Linked DNA regions of Homo sapiens: region 2 is linked to region 1. The links are contacts of gene promoters, found by promoter capture Hi-C in human tissues and cell types (Jung and others, 2019). All regions are on one chromosome and are shown on one strand. The core of a region is centred on a gene start or on the middle of the fragment in contact, and the rest is flanking DNA. Distances in the headings are between cores, read along the strand shown. Region 1 holds the start of GREM1 (gremlin 1, DAN family BMP antagonist). Region 2 overlaps FMN1 (formin 1).

Region 1 (2,847 bases), core at 327-2,826:
CGGTGGTCACCTCTCTGCCCTCGGACCGTTTAAGAGGGGGATTTTAACCCCTAACGCTGAGGCTGTATTTCTGTCTATAAGAGCCGAGATTCGGAGTCGGTCGAGGAGGGGAAGGCAGTAGACGGATTCGACCCGGGAATGCATTAGGGACAGCTCCGGGCGCGCAGGAATTTCTTCACAGCAGAGGCTGGTCACCTGCCGTCCGTCCCTCCCCGCCTGGCCCGGTGACCGTCGCCAGAGCCTGGCGCAGGCAAATAAACGCCAAGCTGGGGCACCCCCAAGGAGGAGCTGCGATCCGAAGGCAATGCCAAGCGAGAGCGGTGGCGCGTCTGTTCTTCCGGAGTCTGTAGTCTACAAATAACTCCGGCCAGCAAGGAGGTGACAGCCCCAATATACCTCCCACTCCCCTGCTATGGCCTTGCTCCGCAAGCTGTGGAGGGGCCAGCGGAGCCAGCCAGGCAGCGAGAGAGAACGAAAGACGCCCAGCTCGTTGCAGCCGCCAACCCGCCTCAGCCGCCAGTCCCTAGTCCTCAGGAGCTAGTGAGGCGCTGCAAGGCGAGGCTGGGGCCTCTAGAACACAGTTTAAGGGGTGCGCGCGGAAGTGGGAACCAGCCGGTGGCCGCTGCCCGGCGCCAGAACGTCTACCATTCAGCCCGGGCGTGCGCGGGGCGGGGAAGAGGCTGGAGTAGAGAAGCGAGCGCCCGCGAGTGCGTGGCCGGTCCGCGAGCGCGTGTGGTGTCTGCCTTGTGAGCACTGCGGGTTCGCTGGACCCCGCGGCCAGGGCCGCGCCCCGCACCGCAGCTGTCGGATTACCCACCGTTCGGTTTTCCGCTGTGGCTGAACACAGCGGCTCTGCCCTTGCCAGTCTCCATCTCACCTCGGGGATCGGCAAATGCACACATCATGGATTCTCCGGATGCTCCAACCCGCGGACTCCAATGGGCGCCCCAAGACGCCCCCAGACCCAGCGCGGCGCCCCAAGCACATGGGACCCTCTCAAGGCAACTCGCCGCGCAGTCAGCGGCCGACTAGCAGGTCCGGATGCTCCTGCGCTCTGGCGGCCTGGACTTCGCGCCCTCGCTAAGCGGGCGCGTCTGCCAGGCGCTGCTGCCACCAGCACCAGGAGCGTGTTCGGGGGCCTCCGGGAGGTGGAAACGGGATGTGGGGGTCATCCTGCCCGCTCCTGACAACTTTTTTTCCTACGTTTCCCTGCAGACCCAGAGCAGCGAGGTCACGGTGTCCGCGGCCTCAGCAGGAAGGACCCCGCGATGGTTCTTCACAATTCACCCCCGCGAACAACGCACCCGAGCCTGCGCGCACGGAGGGCTGCCGCGCGTGGAACTGAGCGGGTCCTGGGTTGGTTTGCGGCCCTCTTCCCTCCGCCCACTCACATCCCTGCCGGGTGCGTCCGCGCTCACCTGTCAGTGCGGCGGGTCCTCGGGGCCTGCGCTTTCGACGCGTGGCGCTGAGTGCGGCCGCGGCCAGAGCCGCCGGGGCTCGGCGCGGGGTCAGCGGGACCGAGAGTGACGCGGCGGCCGTGCACTGGGTCGCCCGGTCCGCGGAAGGCGCACCGAGTGCCAGGCATCGCGCCGTCTCCCGTTTAAATGCCGGCGGCAGAGCGCGGCGCCCGGGGCCGCGCCTCTCCATTGGCCAGGCGCCGCCGCCGCCGCCAGACCCGCTATCCGCCCCCTTTCCCGGTACTGCCCCCGCCCCCCGCACCCCTCCTGCTTCCCCGCGGGGTCCCCTCTCCGCCCGCCTCGCCTCTTTGTCTGCTCCCCCCGCCCGGGCCGGCTGGGAGAGGTCACCCCAGGGAACCGCGCCTGGAATGCACAGCAAATCACATTTTCCGCTCCCGTTGGAGAGGGAAGAGCGGGAGGAAATCCCCCCGGCTGGCGGCCCCTCATTCCTTCTCTGCCCCAGGTCTGGGCTTTCCCTGTCGGCCGCCCGGCATCGCCTGCGTTGGTCCCGCGCTCAGTAGCGGAGACTGCGCTGGGAAGAGCGAGATCTCCGTGGGATCGTGCCAGATTCGGCCATTCTTCCCCTCTGGAGGGAACGGGACTGCGGGATGCTCTGGTCGAGCGGCCGTCGTGGCTCCCCGGCGGCCCCGCCCGAGGCCCCCAACTTCGAGGGCGCTGACCCCGGCGCCCCCGTTAACCTGGCGGGCTCGCTGGCCGCCAGCAGGAGCCTGTCGCCAACATGACACCCTGCTCTCCTCGCCCGCCAAGGGTTCTTTCAGCCCAGATGCCGGCGGCCTCCCCTGTGAGTGTACAGAGGGGAGTCACGGGAGGAGAATAAAACTAAATGACCGTCAAAAGTCAAGGCTTCTGTTCCTAAATTATCTTAAGAGACAGAGAGAAAACAGCCACTGGGCGAGAGGGGTTTTCTGTAGCATATCAAAGACGAATAAGTCAGGAAAATAAAACGTTAGATGAGGAAGTAACTTCCCAGAAATTTAGGACAAAAACCTACCGACGTGTAAAACCAATGTCACATTCCGGATACCAAGTACATAAATAGTTTTCGAAAGATGAGCGAACACTTTCATTTGTTCTCTTAGCCTGAAAAATTGGTTCCTCAAAGAGGCCGTAAGTTTTGTGTGTTGAAGCTAAAGTCCGTGCAAAAATTAACACGTCTGCAAGATCTGCAGACCAGCTCCATCAGCCACGTCAAATGAAGACTTTGAAAAAGATTTGCTACAGAAGGAAATATGAAGGTGTCTGTATTGTCTAACGCGAAATAAACAAAACAATGAAATCCATCAAAAGATACTTACGAAACACCCGTAATTTAAGTACTTGACTAGGAAAACAAAACCAGACCAGAAAACAGCCTATTTTTTTTTTCTCT
Region 2 (2,792 bases), core at 111-2,610, 48 kb before region 1:
AAATAAGCACTGGCCTGCATGCCTAGAACCTGAGTGAAGGCAGTCAACATCCTAGTATGAATCAGACCTAGCAGAAATGTAAATTATTTCAAGTACTTCAGGGTTTAGTTTTCTTAGTGACACCCTGGACCCTGGATGCTGCTTTCTAAAGTGCACCTGATCCATGCAGTTTTATGTCTTCATATAACTGGTATCTTGTGAGTTTGCAAGCAATGGGATGAGCAAGAAAAAAAGGACGCATGGAGGAGAAAAATTTGAACGAGGCTAGTGCAATGTTTTGCTGATAGATTACATTGTTAGGGAGCTGGTGATTTTTTGCCATGGTCGTATCGTGGACAGCTTTTCCGTGGAAATTCAAGGCATCTGTATTAGGCAAATGTGAGTGCCCTTGATCTTGTATTGATCAGTGCCAATGTACTGGGAAAGCAGGTACCCCAGTGAAACTGGTCTGTGCTTGGTTTAACAGCTCCAACAATTTCAGATCCATGGGGCTGCTTGACCATAGACCCTGTTTACTCCATGCCTGTTCAAAAGTCATTTTGACTTCTAGCTTTGTTTCACTTTCTTCTTTCAATACTTCTGTTTCCTCGTCCTTTTCCTTCATATTCCATGGCTATTTCTTTCCTACTTTACAGTTTCCCCCAGACCCAGATTTTTTCACACCTCTGCATCATAGACAACTGAGTAGCTCCCTTGGCCCCTCCTCCATCCTCTCACACCCTGTGCTCCGTTCCTCAGCCGTTTGGACAGGGAGCTCCGCTGTCACCAAGGAGCCCATGTGAGACACACTGCTGTGACTGCCTCTTGTTAATGTCAGCATCACCTCATCACTTAAGCAAAAAGGAAAATCCATAAAAGAGATGGAAAATACGTCTCTTTTTATTTTATTTTAAGAAGATTGGGCGGGGTGGGGGGGGGGTTCTTATTCTAGGCCTTCTCAATTTCTCATAGATTTTACCTTAAACTAATTAAGGCCATTCTCTTGATAAATTTGTACATCAGACCGGGTCACCAGCTATGATGCAGAACGCCAGATTTTTGAATCTCAAGTAACTTTCTGTGGTGCTGGACAAATTGACTTAATTCTGTGCAGGCAAACACTTTGAATCATAAGGATTTTTATTGCCGCTCCATTCTTACTACTATTCATGATTCAAACATCTACCCCTGTTCTGAATCAGGATGTTGACACTTCTTGGTTATTTTCAGATGAACAGTAACTGCTACACTCTTGAAAGCACTTAAAAGTGCAAGCATGTCCTAAATAGCCATTTAACCTGGTAAAACATAGGCTTTTCTGTTTAATTAAGTATTAGACCAGTCTGTAGATATAATCTGAAAAGATTGTAGGCAGTAATGAAGACAGTTGGGGAAAGGAGAAGGCCCTTTAAAGACATGAAACCTTACACGCTCTTGGGATATTTTTAAGCATAATAAGCTCATTGGATTCAGGTATTTTTCCCTTTGCATTTTTAAAAATACGTATTTCTAATTTGTTTGCATATTTAATTTTGTCAAAGCTGAGAAATGCTCATGAGTTGAATTTATAAATGTCATTTGCAACCAAATGAAGTATTTATTTTTAAAAAGAGAGTGAAGGAACCAACACTGATTTGTACATAATAAAAATGTGTGTATTATATATATATATTTTTTCCTCCTTGACAGTACTTGGTCACAATATCAAGTGTATTTTTGTACATAATATATATTGATTAGAAAAACGTCAATTGTCTATTCAAAAAATTCTATCTCTGTGATAGATTATATTTATCCTAATCTGTTGATACCTCTGTTAATTTGTTTTAAGAGAATTATATTTTTTGGAATTTACAGAGAATTGCATTCATGGCTTTCAATTGTAAATATGCTAAGGGTATTTTAATAAATCTTGGTTTCATGTCCATCTGGTGTGCAATGCAGATTTGTTTTCAGGAGGCATGTAAAGCAATATCCCAGTAGTACTGTAATGTGGAGAACACCAGTCATTTCTAACTTGCGTTACCACTCGGGTACACTATTCTGAGCTGCAAGAGCTGAGTCTGAGGAAGTCTATCGTTGGTATTTCCGTTTTTCTCCCATTTGTCCCCTATCAACTGTGGGCAACTTGGCCAGACATTCAAGGCTAACAACCAACAGACAAAACCAGCCAGGCATTGTCTCAACAAGGCTTACCCAAAAGCAACACTTCCTGAATATACATTGCCCAAGGGACGGGGCACAAAGAGATTGGTGACTTCAGGCTATAGGTTGAAAATAATAAACTGGAGAAACAGAATAGAAACATAATTGTATGGATTCTTTTACTAAGCACAAGGTACACATTCTTTTCAAGGAATAATATGAAGCATGCAGGTATTTTATAAACATAAAACACTTTAAGCAAAACAGTCTTCTATTTAAATACAAATGTAATTGTGCTTTTTAGTTAATTCATTTCTTTGGTGTTCCTGAATGCCGTACGCTACAGTTCTAGATATTTGCTGCAATATACCCTATTATGTATAGCAATGTTTAATGAACATACATAGTTATTATCTAGGAAGACATTTCACCACTACAAAATCTTCTAAATCATAGTCAGTGAGCTGCAAAAATCTTTGGACATTGGAGAAAATATCTCAGTAAAACTTCTGAAGTTCAAGGGAATTGCTAAAAATCACACTTACTGTTGGTGAACACTTCAAGACTAGAACCCAGATTTCTTGACACTAAGGCCAAAGCCCTTCCAACTGATGGATTCATTCATCAAATTAGACCGCTCTCTCCTTCAAAATACTCTATCATGGAGA

Evidence for each region. Contacts are between HindIII fragments. The study calls those that stand out against the background at their distance.
Region 2: a contact is called between a fragment that was not itself captured here and the fragment with the promoter of GREM1 in region 1, in 1 of the 25 tissues and cell types used here (IMR-90 fibroblasts).

What each region holds. Positions count from the first base shown.
Region 1 is chr15:32,716,733-32,719,579 of GRCh38, reverse strand. It overlaps GREM1 (gremlin 1, DAN family BMP antagonist), which reads right to left and starts at 1,576. Exons shown (of 2, transcript NM_013372.7): 1 at 1,419-1,576. GREM1-AS1 (GREM1 antisense RNA 1) reads left to right here and starts at 715. Exons shown (of 2, transcript NR_109767.1): 1 at 715-1,035; 2 at 1,216-1,479. RefSeq lists enhancers at 276-853, 854-1,432, 1,570-2,070. The HindIII fragment of the contact is 12,229 bases long and covers 1-2,847 here.
Region 2 is chr15:32,764,658-32,767,449 of GRCh38, reverse strand. It overlaps FMN1 (formin 1), which reads left to right. Exons shown (of 21, transcript NM_001277313.2): 21 at 1-1,906. Among named protein-coding and RNA genes, the nearest start is that of GREM1-AS1, 47 kb to the right of the region's middle. The HindIII fragment of the contact is 6,406 bases long and covers 1-2,792 here.